Regions from separate parts of the Homo sapiens genome. Here all the other regions are linked to region 1. The links are contacts of gene promoters, found by promoter capture Hi-C in human tissues and cell types (Jung and others, 2019). All regions are on one chromosome and are shown on one strand. The core of a region is centred on a gene start or on the middle of the fragment in contact, and the rest is flanking DNA. Distances in the headings are between cores, read along the strand shown. Region 1 holds the start of HAS2 (hyaluronan synthase 2). Region 2 has its middle 400 kb from the start of SMILR. Region 3 has its middle 340 kb from the start of SMILR. Region 4 has its middle 370 kb from the start of SMILR.

What was found. Contacts are between HindIII fragments. The study calls those that stand out against the background at their distance.
Region 2: a contact is called between a fragment that was not itself captured here and the fragment with the promoter of HAS2 in region 1, in 2 of the 25 tissues and cell types used here (H1 embryonic stem cells and mesenchymal stem cells).
Region 3: a fragment that was not itself captured here is called in contact with the fragment with the promoter of HAS2 in region 1 in 1 of the 25 tissues and cell types used here (H1 embryonic stem cells).
Region 4: a fragment that was not itself captured here is called in contact with the fragment with the promoter of HAS2 in region 1 in 1 of the 25 tissues and cell types used here (mesendoderm cells).

The regions. Positions count from the first base shown.
Region 1 is chr8:121,639,916-121,642,960 of GRCh38, forward strand. It overlaps HAS2 (hyaluronan synthase 2), which reads right to left and starts at 1,525. Exons shown (of 4, transcript NM_005328.3): 1 at 938-1,525. It also overlaps HAS2-AS1. RefSeq lists an enhancer at 2,184-2,807. The HindIII fragment of the contact is 13,134 bases long and covers 1-3,045 here.
Region 2 is chr8:122,168,769-122,171,734 of GRCh38, forward strand. No RefSeq gene overlaps it. Among named protein-coding and RNA genes, the nearest start is that of SMILR, 400 kb to the right of the region's middle. The HindIII fragment of the contact is 4,132 bases long and covers 1-2,966 here.
Region 3 is chr8:122,230,749-122,233,448 of GRCh38, forward strand. No RefSeq gene overlaps it. Among named protein-coding and RNA genes, the nearest start is that of SMILR, 340 kb to the right of the region's middle. The HindIII fragment of the contact is 5,557 bases long and covers 1-2,700 here.
Region 4 is chr8:122,192,902-122,195,800 of GRCh38, forward strand. No RefSeq gene overlaps it. Among named protein-coding and RNA genes, the nearest start is that of SMILR, 370 kb to the right of the region's middle. The HindIII fragment of the contact is 4,191 bases long and covers 1-2,899 here.

The sequences.
Region 1 (3,045 bases), core at 275-2,774:
AGACGGCGCCCCCAGATCTCCCACCGGGCAGTGTCCCCAGCTGCAGCTGAGGAGAGAAGCGCCGGCGTGCGCGGTGCCACGTCGGAATTGGCTCTGGGGACGCCGCAGCTGCCGAAGCGCAGCGCGCGGTCCCCACGCACGCCCTGCCTCCGGGCGGCCGGCGGGCTGGCCCGGCGAGGAGAGGAGGGATGCGCGCCCTCCTCCCGCTCCTATCTGCGGGTGCCACCGCCTGCGTCAGGGACCCCTGGCCCGAGTAAGCCCAGACTGACGAGCCTGACACTTTAATGGGGTGCGGGAAGTGCAAAGGAGGGGAGGCCCGGGAAAGGGGGGAGTGGCCGAGAGGGGATGGTAGCTGCGAGGAGGTAGAGAAGGACCCTCCTTCTCCAGGGTCCCAGCTTGTCGGAGCTGGAAGCCCAGATTGCTTAACCCTTTGCATTCCCAGCAAGAAGCGACTTTTTCACTTAGAAGTAAAACGCGCTGGGCTATTCCAGTTTTTCTCCCCACAGTGTGTGTGTGTGTGTGTGTGTGTGGGAAAAAAAGAAGGGAAGGGGTGGGGCGGCTGTGCAGAATGCATTTTCCTTACATTGGGAATTCTTGTTTCCTAACTCTGGAGCCCCTCTGCTGCTCCGGAAGATGCAAAATGGAAAAGTACATCTGAGGACGTGCAGCCTTTCCCAGGCAGAGAGGCTACCTGTGTCCCCAGAAAGGCAGCGGATTTCTGGCGAGAGCCGCAGAAATGGGAAAAGAGGGCTATGTTGCTAAGCCTGACAGTGACCTGAAATATTCCCTGATCTTCAGTCTGTTGGAAATTTTTAAACTTCCAACTTTTCTATCGAAACTGGCTTAAAAATTTTAAAACAATTATAAGGATGTCTTCCTTCTCCCTGGCCTGTTGGAGGACCTTCATCCTTCACCAAAACGCGCCAGTGTAACGTACCTTGTTCAGCTCTTGGTCATAAAGTCGTCCTCAGCCTGTCTGTGTGGTCCCGGAGGGTCGGTGGCGGGCAGTTTCCAAAATTGAGGTAATAAGAGATCAGATGAATTTGAGACGACCGGCCAAAAAAAATAAGAAATTTAAAAACAACATTTAAAAAGGATAGGGGAGTCTTAAATGTTTGATTCTTCCCCACTTTAAAAAATAATTTCACTAATATTCTCTTTATGTTTCCGTTGCACTTCAGTCTAATTCTTAAAAAAATTATGCTTTAAAAATAAATTAACTTTTCTTTTTTCTTTTCTTTTCTTTTTTTTTTTTTTTTTTTTTTGGGCTTCAGTCTTTCTGCCCCCGATAACAGAAAATCTCTTTTTCGTCTTAAAAAAAAAAAAAAAAAAAAAAAAAGCCTGTGGAAGACTCAGCAGAACCCAGGAAGCGCAGAATTGGGAGAAAAGTCTTTGGCTGGGGCTGTTTCAAGTCTCTGGTTCAATGGGCTGCTCGAAGCCAGGACTGGGTAATTCTTTCCAGACGTCTTGACTTCTCCTTCCCCGCCGTTGTTGCCCTTCTGCCTCCTCCAACTTAAGGGGGTCTTAACAAGTGAGCTGGTGGGTGTTTTAATAGGGCGGCGGAGGGAGTGGGGGGGTGAGGGAAGTGGAGAGGGAGGTGTGGACTGGGGAACCCTGAGGGGAGGGAACTGGGAGCGCGGGCGGGCGGGCGAGCGGGAGGCGGGGAGGGGGAGAGGGAGAGAGAGAAATTGGCCATTCAAAGCCTTCTCTGAGCTACAGGCCGGTTCTAAACTCCAATGAATTCAATTAACTTGATTGCTAACGTGTGCAGAGAAATGCAAGACACATAGGGGGCCACCACCTGATTCCTTACTTTCCTCTGGCGGCGGAGGTGGGAGCCCTCGCCTCTTGGATTTCCCTGAACTCCCGCGTTACAAGTTCCCTCCAAGCGATAAACTCCCTGTGGCGCTGAAGTAATTTGTTTTAAAGCCAAATGGTGCCCTTCAGCTAAGTAACCGACCCAAGGAGGAACAGTTGGGAGGGGTGTGTGCACGTGTGTGTGTGTGTGTGTAAGTGTGTGCGTGTGTGTGTGTACCTGGAGCCTTCGACAGCCGGCTGGGACTCTAAAAAGATCGCGCTGGTCCACCACTTGTTAACCCTTTCTTCCCGCCAACTCAAAAGTTTCTGAGCTGACGTCAAGTGTCAAAGCCTTTCTCATAAAGAGGTTTCTGCCGTGGGTGGGCGGAAAACATAGAAAAGTAATTATATGTATATTTTTGCTCAATCTGGTCCCCTAACGTAAACATACTCAAACAGCGCGCATTAAAAATAAAATAATAAAAATTGTTTTCTGGAGGACTTATATTTAGCCATCTTGAAGGAAATGGCTTAACTGGCTTTTGCTTTTTGCAAGCCTTCTGCAAAGTTGACGAGGACAAATATGTCTTGCTTGGAGATGGCCTTTCCTCGTCGTTTTCACAATGCCCCAAGGCTGGGTAGAGTTCGTTTTTTGGTTACTCCTCCCCCCACCACTCCGCCTCCTTTCTTTCTCTTGGACCTTGCCAACAAGCCTGCTGATGACTGAAAATGGACAGTAGGTGGCACTGTTGAGGAAAAAATGAGAGTGACTTTACAAATTAACCAACTTGGTCTTGGGAGATTGCGCTGAAATTGTTATAGGGTAAAACAGATTTTTCTTTCTTTCTTTTTTCCTTCTTCCCCTTCCAAGGATCTTCTGAGGGGTGGACTTCTTTGGAACTCGACAGGACCTTGAAGACTGGGTTCTTAGTCCTTATCACATATATGGGCTATAATGAATAAGTCTAAACAGAAAAGTCGAATAAACTGGAAATGATGCTTTCATCACGTCGCACAAGGTGTAGTGTTGGGGGATGTGATTAGGGGTCAAGCATTTTAGTGCAATACCAGGTAGTCAGCCATCCCAGTCCCCAGGGGCTGACCTGCAAAGTACTGCGCGTTTCCGCCCCCTTCCCCCCGCCCCCCCCCGCCACGCCACACACACACACAGCGGTTACACCTCTGGGAAGCATTACCTTGGCCTGATGACTTCACGCTGCTCAGGGGACCCCACTGATTTCCCCCAGC
Region 2 (2,966 bases), core at 84-2,583, 530 kb after region 1:
GGACAACTTGAGGTCAGGAGTTCGACCTCAACCTGGCCAATATGGTGAAACCCTGTCTCTACTAAAAGTACAAAAAAATTAGCTGGGTGTGGTGGTGGGCACCTGTAATCCCAGACTCGGAAGTCTGTGGCAGGAGAATTCCTTGAACCCGGGAGGTGGAGGTTGCAGTGAGCCAAGATGATTGTGCCACTGCACTCCAACCTTTGGGACAGAGCAAGACTCTGTCTCAAAAACAAAACAAACAACAAAAAAAACCAGAAAGTTATTTCAGACAAAAAAAAAATGGATTTCAGGAAAAATCAACTGTTTCACTCTAGTTTTTTCTGTTCTCATAGTAGGCTTCTAAATATTTTGTCATATAACTGCAGCTTGTCACTTATGAAATACTGATTTAGATATTTCTCTTTCATTAGTGTCTATTTCCAGCAAATAGAGAAAAAAGAACCATTTTATACAACTAAAGAAAAGATGAGCTGAAAATCAAGCTTTAGCTGGGATAGAAATGTAAACAATGCTCAATGCAGAAGGTAAATTTTAATCTTAGAACCAAAAGTTGTCTTGCCAATAAACCATGCCAGCAATTCTCAATGCAGGTCATTCACTGGAATCATCTAGAGACTTACAAAAGAAGTATGATACACTGATCCCATCTCTAGAGATTCTGATTCAACTAGTCTGGTGTGAGGCCCAAACTCAGATATTATTTTAACAGTTCCCCACATGATTATAATAAGTGGCAAGAGTTGATTGCCACTGATCGAATCTGTTTTGTTTTTCAGTAATGAGAAACAGTTTATAAAGTGAATTCTAACATGTTTTCCTTTTAAGATAATTTGAAAAGCAAACAAAATAAATTAAAAAACAAGAAAGTTTGGGTTTTCAGCAATAATGTTCAAATATCTCATTTTGCCCTAAAATACTAAGGATCAAATAATTTAAATAACTTACCTAGAGTTGCAGGCCTACATCAAAATATTGATATCAATGTAAAATATATACATAAACTGTTTCTTTGTGTGAAGATGATTAATATTTATTCAAAATATCATGACTTAAAGGAATTAATAATGCATTCTCACATATTGATTTTAAGGTGAAAACTGAGTTGCCTTTTAAAAAGAAACTTCCTCTTCATGAAAGACTTGACTTGCATTAGTATAAGTTATGGGTGTATTTCCTAAGTTGTTAAATTTTGAGGACAAGCTTAAGATCTGATGAATCAGAAAGTGTTGATTCTCTTTGAACAAAGTACCCCAATTAACTGTAGGCCAGTATTTCTCAAAGTGTGATACTATAAATCACACTTGTATTAATATCATACAATAGTCCAAAATGTAGATTATTTTTCTGAGGATGGGATCCCGAAAAGGGTGGATGTTACAACTCTCTTCATGTTTTGGATCTAAACAAAAATTTAAGAACCATTGCTCTAGGTCTAAATCAGGTGGTCCCCAGACCAGACTTTGAAAAACATAGCTCTACTTTCAGGATACATTTTAATCTTTTTTGTTTGTTTGTGAACACTAGCTGACTTTGCTCTCCTGGGAGCTAGTTGAAACATTTTGCACAGGCACCATTTCTGAGCAGGGTGTCACTAACCCACTGCAGTGTGATTCCTACTTAGAAGCAGTGCCTTAGAAATCTCAGTTCCATTACATAAGGTACCTGGTACTTGCTGATTAGGAAGATTAACAGAGGTAAACAGCGGCTTTTAATCTTTTCTAGACTTTCAGGCTCCTATAAACCCAGAACAACTCTCCTGTCAAAATAGAGATAAAGAAGCTTAACTGATGCACAATTCTATTTCTAATATTTCTGTGGCTTTTACAACTCACTGTAGGATCTGGTTTTTGAGTACCTGTTCTGTAAGATTTGTAGCTACTGTATTTCCATGTGGAGAGTAAGAAATTTCTAACATTGCCAGCCTATGATACATATAGCCATATGAAAAGTGGGAGGGCATCATTGCAATGGAAAAACCAATACCAAACTGATTGTAATCCCTGTTTAGGATTTGTGGAATACCTTTATATCTGTAATTACTGTTATGCTTTTTTTGGGTAGAAAATAAATCACACAAGTATGCAGGAGAAATGTATTTAATTGCTTTTTTCACAGTCAATGCAACTATGTCTCACACTATTTCCCCAGTTAATTTTCTACTCTAATCAAATGATTGTCTACTGGGTCCCCAAATACTTAATTTTTATCTATACTTTACATTTTTTCTCTGCCTTCTTAAATTTGACTTGTTCAAAGTGCAGCTCATTCTACAACCAGGACATAACTTCCACTGCATTTTTCCATTAAAATTTAGAAAGTGGTGTTTGTCTTTTTTTTTTTTTTTTTTTGAAGAAGTATTCTACAGGAAGAATTTTGATAGCAGGATATCATACACACTTCTGTTTAGAATTAAAAATAGTTATGTGGTAGGTATAGAAGATTCTGCCATAGATATGCAGAACTGAATGCAAACTGTCTTTTTAATCCGCAAATGAATTTAGTAATATATATTACAAGCCCTAAAATATCTATGACCTTTATGTAAATAATTCTGCCTCTAAAAGTTTGTATTAAAAATGGTCATGGGGCCATCAACATTTTAATTGTAAGGCTCTTCACATAAAGTGGTATTTTAATAGAAAGCAATTGAAAGCATCTAAATATTCAACATGAGAAAATATTTAATGATTATATGACTTGTACAATTATAAATTGAATATCTGACTGCTTGACAAATACTTTCCCTATAATGTTAAAAAATCTGAGATAGAAAGTTGTAAATATAACTTAGCCTAATTCTGTAAAAAGTACATACATGCTGGGCTGGGTGTGGTGGCTCACACCTGTAATTCCGGCACTGTGGGAGGCCAAGGCAGGCAGATAATCTGAGGTCAGGAGTTCAAGACCAGCCTGACCAAAATGGTGAAACCCCATGTCTACTAAAAATACAAAAATTAGCCCGG
Region 3 (2,700 bases), core at 152-2,651, 590 kb after region 1:
ACAAGCCACTGACTGGCGCCAATCTGCCACCTGGGGGTTGTGATCCCCTGATATGTGACATAAACAAATAGAAACTCATCCCAAGCTCATGGATAGGAGAATCAATACTGTGAAAATGACCATACTGCCCAAAGAAATCTACAGATTTCAATACAATTCCCATCAAAATACCATCATCATTTTTCACAGAATTAGAAAAAAAATCCTAAAATTTATATGAAAACAAAAAAGAGCCCACATAGCCAAAGCAATACTAAGCAAAAAGAACAACTCTGGGGCATCACATTACCAGACTTTAAATTTGGTAACTGCAAGGCTGCAGCTACCAAAACAGGATGGTACTGGTATAAAAAGAGGCACTTAGACAAACGGAACAGAATAAAGAACCCAGAAATGAAGCAAAATACTTATAGCCAACTGATATTTGACAAAGCATACAAAAACATTAATTGGGGAAAAAGGCCTTATTCAATAAATGGTGCTGGGAAAACTGGCACGCCGCATGTAGAAAAATGAAACCGGAGCCCCATCTCTCATCTTATACAAAAATCAACTCAAGATGGATCAAAGACTTAAGTCTAACGCCTGAAACCATGAAAATGCTAGAAGATAACATTAGCAACACCCTTCTGAACATTGGCCTAGGCAAAAAATTCATGACTAAGACCCCAAAACCAAACCCAACAAAAACAAAAATAAATAAATGGGACCTAACTAAACTAAAAGCTTCTGCACAGTAAAACAAGTAATCAACAGAGTAAACAGACAACCCACAGAGTAGGAGAAAATATTTGCAAACTATGCATTCAACAAAGGACTAATATCCGGAATCTACGAGGAACTTAAGTCAGCAGAATAAAACAATCTTATCAAAAAGTGGGCAAAAAACATGAATAGACTATTCTCAAAAGAAGATATACAAATGGCCAAGAAACATATAAGTGCTCAACGTCTCTAATTATTAGGGAAATGCAAATTGAAACCACAGTGCAATACCACCTTATTCCTGCAAGAATGGCCATAATTTAAAAATTAAAAAATAATAGATGTTGGCATAAATGTGGTGAAAAGTTTAAGGAGATAATATAGCATATATATATATATATATATATATATATATATATATAACAAATATATAAATATACATATCTTTAAAAAATATAAGGTGGGTAAGTAGCAAGAAATATTAATAAATTGTGAGGGGAGGGTGTTAGAACGCTTTGGTTCCATGTAGAACAAACTCTGAAGGGTAATTAATGTTCCAGAGTCTGAATGCTAGTATCCTTTGAACTTTCATGTGTCCTGTGGTGTCAGGGTGAGGACTGGATTTCTCTTCTATCACAGATACTGTTAAATATAGTGACCCCCAAGTTTCTCTTCAAAGAATCAGTATGTCAGTATGTTCAGCTCTCTTATTCTTTGACTCTCCATTTTAAAGTTTAACTTCTTGGTTCTCTTTGCTCCCTTCCTTCTAGTTTCAGTAAACAACTTTCCCGCCAGTCCTAATCAGTAGTTCACGTCTGTTTCCCTTGTCACCTGCTTTGACCTGAGTCACCCTAGTCACCTGTTTTGACCTGAGTCACCCCTGGTCACCCGCTCCATCCTGACTCATCCTGAGCCACCAGTTCTGTAACCGCCCTTCCTGCCAAACTACTCACCCCACTACTCTGGCTCGTAGTCCTGCTCTTTTTAAAATAGCCAATCAGAATTAGCTTAGACTGTGAGGTCCAACCCTAGCCAATAGGGGAATGACACAGCAGTAGGGCCCTGTGTCAGGAATAAGCACTCCTTCCCCTCCCCTGTCCAGGTGTGCTGTTGCCATTGTTCCATCCGTGAGGAGCACCCTTTCTGCAGAAAGCAAAAATTGCCTTGTTGAGAAAATTAAATTTATGTTCGAGTGCTATTTCTTTGCAGCACCAGGGAGCAAGCATTTTACATTTCTAACAGATACCACCAGCCAGATTTATACCTGCTCTAGTCAAGGCAGACTTTACCCTTTCCTCTCAAATTTCTCTTGTCCCTGGTTCCCCAAATTCAGAGGAACTAGAAGAAGAGTAAATATGGTAAGTAGTCAAGCACAGGGAATTAAACATGCCCCACCCACCCACACACACTTTCATGCTAGTTCATGAAAATATGGAATACAGTCAGTACCAAATTGGCTGCTGGTTGCAAGAAAATCTAAATTGAACCTGAATTTTGATATTAGATTTTACTGAACTATTTAATACCTGCAAATTTGACTATTCTAACACCAAAATCTAACAAAGAAAGTGATGGAATATTCCAGATATATTATTTGGGGCAGAGAAGGAAGATCAGATAAAAGTATTGAGATTTACAGTTTTTTTTTTAAAAAAACTGTTTCCTGAATGGTTTACATTAAATTTAATCTGTTCATTGAACTGGTTAAAGTAGTTTTCCCAAAGCTAGTAGTTAATTCTTATTTATTGCTTGTCTCCTTACTCTCCTTGCTGGTTTCTGTCTGAATAGATACTTGCCCACTTCAAGGATCCTGCTGGGAAGGATAAAGACCCTAAACTTGACCCTTTTGACTTAGACATTTTTCATGGTTTACAAAATACGTTGTATGTAGTCAACCTTCAATACTTAATATAAACTGACACTATGACTATTTGTTTCAGAGGTTTCCTGAGAATAGAAAGAAATGTATAACATGTCTTTTTTTTTTTCTAGCAT
Region 4 (2,899 bases), core at 132-2,631, 550 kb after region 1:
GGTTTCCCAAAGAAGGAATTCTGCCTCAAAACTGCAACAGCAAAATCCTGAGTTTTCAGCCTGCTGGCTTGCCTTACAGATTCAGACTTGCCAGCTCCACAGTAGCATGAGCTAGTGCGTTAAAACCTCTCTCCATTTCTCCATCTCTCTCTCTCTCTTTTTCTGTGTGTGTGTGTGTGTGTGTGTGTGTGTGTGTGTGTGTGTGTATGTATTTCTGTTTCTCTGATGAACTCTAACACATATTATGAAAATATTTTGTTTTGCTTTTTATAAAACCATTTTATTGAGATACAATTGGCATATATTAAACACATTTAAAGTGAAAAATTTGGTAAGTTTTGACTTATATATTGTGCTATGAAATGAGCAGCACAATCAAGGTAATCAACACACCTGTCGTCCCTGTAAATTTCCTTTTGCCTTTTTGTAATCTCTTGCTTCAAATCCTCTCCTGACTATTTCCATGTCTCCAGAAAACCACTGATATGATTTTGTCATTCCACATGAGCTTGAATTTCCTAGATTTGTCTATAAGTGGTATCATGATCATGTGGTCTGCAAATCAAGACAATTTTGTGTCCTTTTTAGCAATCTGGAAATGTGTTATTTCTTTTTTTCTTGCATTATTGCACTGACAAGAACTTTAGGTATAATGTTGAATAGAAGTAGTTAAAGAGTCCATCTCTGTTTCGTTCCTGATCTTAGGAGGAATGTTTTTATTCTTACACTACTAAGATGTTAACTGTTTTTGTGTGTGTTTGGATTCTGGCTTTTTAAAAACATTCTTATTGGGTTAAAATTGTTCCCCCAGGCCGGGTGCGGTGGCTCAGGCCTATAATCCCAGCACTTTGGGAGGCCGAGGCGGGCAGATCACGAGGTCAGGAGATAGAGACCATCCTGGTTAACACAGTGAAACCCCATCTCTACTAAAAATACAAAAAATTAGCCGGGCCTGTTGGCCGGTGCCTGTAGTCCCAGCTACTCAGGAGGCTGAGGCTACAGAACGCGTGAACCCGGGAGGCGGAGCTTGCAGTGAGCTGAGATGGCACCACTGCAGTCCGGCCTGGGCGACAGAACGAGACTCCATCTCAAAAAAAAAAAAAAAACAAAAAAACATTGTTCCCCCATTCCTTCATATTACTCCATCTTGGTTGGAAGCAGAAGTTCACCTTTGTGATCTTTTTTTTGGGATTGCGCCCTTGAAATAAGAAATGATGGGGATTCTGGGTATTCAAAAAGTGAAATATGGTAGATACATATTGTCTGTGCCCTTGTAGCAGTGAGATACCCCTTCTTGTTCCACATGATGTGAGTTCCAATTATAGTATCTAATATTGCTGGACCCAAGTATTTGTTCAAGTATAGGCATATGACACGAGGGGAAAATCAGGCTGATTCCATAGAATTAACGACAGTGGCCAAACTGATCTCTTCCCACTGTGTTTTCTAAAATAGAAGAATATACATTTAGGACTCCTAATATTTATCTTATGTAGCCCTTTAAAATGCTTGCAATAAAGTCAAATGAGACTAATCCACAATGGGATGTAATTATTTGTTTATTCATTTATTTTTCTTTAACACTTACAGAATGGCTACTATGTCTCAGGCATATCTTTAAGCACTTTCTACAGTGGAATTGAATTATGGGAAGATAAATAGTTTAGTTAACCTCCTTTGAGATTCTTGAGTCAGTTTTGTCTGATTATGATATGGCATGTGCCAATAAATTAAATGGCTTTCATCGATGAATTTATTTTTTCTTGGGCGAGTTTGAATAGAGATACTGTCTTTTCACCTGAAAGAGACATGTAACATTGTTTTTAGTAACATTGAGTAACTTAAGCAACTTAAAGGTAGTGAAAAAGAAATCCACATTTCTATTCCCTATCCTTAGCACTCTGATGTAAAATGAGAGTTTGTTTTTACTTTCATGAAAACACAATAAAATTATATAAAGTGTGATAGCTGTTATATTTGTCAGTTGATACTCTCTTCCACATAAAAGAGGGAAAATAAGATTGAAAAAGATTGCTGATAGGCTAATAATAATTTTTTAGCAACATTATTACTGTTTAAGAAAGCATTTTCTTATCTACTTGCATATTTTTAAAAATTGAAAGTATGTAGTACTATTATTCTATTTATATATAACAAAAATGTGTCCAACAAGCTGTCATATAATGAATTAATGGGACTTTACAAGTATGTTCTAATTTTCCTCTCCAGTTGGCATAGCCCTCTTTAAAACGTATTAACCTGACAATTTTAGATATTTTTTCTGGGAAGAATTAAATACCAAGTTCTTTATCATCATAAAACATCCAGATCTGGATCTTAGTGCTTTTCTTTTCTTTTCTTTTTTTTTTGTTTTTGTTTTTGAGACAGAGTTTCGCTCCTGTTGCCCAAGCTGGAGTGCAATGGCTTGATCTCGACTCACTGCAACCTCCGCTTCCTGGGTTCAAGTGATTCTCCTGCCTCAGCCTCCCGAGTAGCTGAGATTATAGGCATGCGCCACTATGCCCAGCTAATTTTGTATTTTTAGTAGAAATGGGGTTTCTCCATGTTGGTCAGGCTGGTCTCGAACTCCCAACCTCAGGTGATCCGCCTGCCTTGGCCTCCCAAAGTGCTGGGATTTCAGGTGTGAGCCACCATGCCCGGCCTGTTAGTGCTTTTCAAATTGTAATTGTTTGTTAAAAATGTTGGTTGCTCTTGATGTTTTTCTTTGCCTAACGTTGAGTAACTTAAGGGTAGCAAAAAAGAAATCCACATTTGTATTCTCCATCCTTAGCACTTAACCAGATATATAGAGGCTTTTGATAAATATTGGCTATATGACTGAATTCCTGGATGGTAGGATCTTCAAAATTTTCATGCATAAAATATTTACTTATTGCCT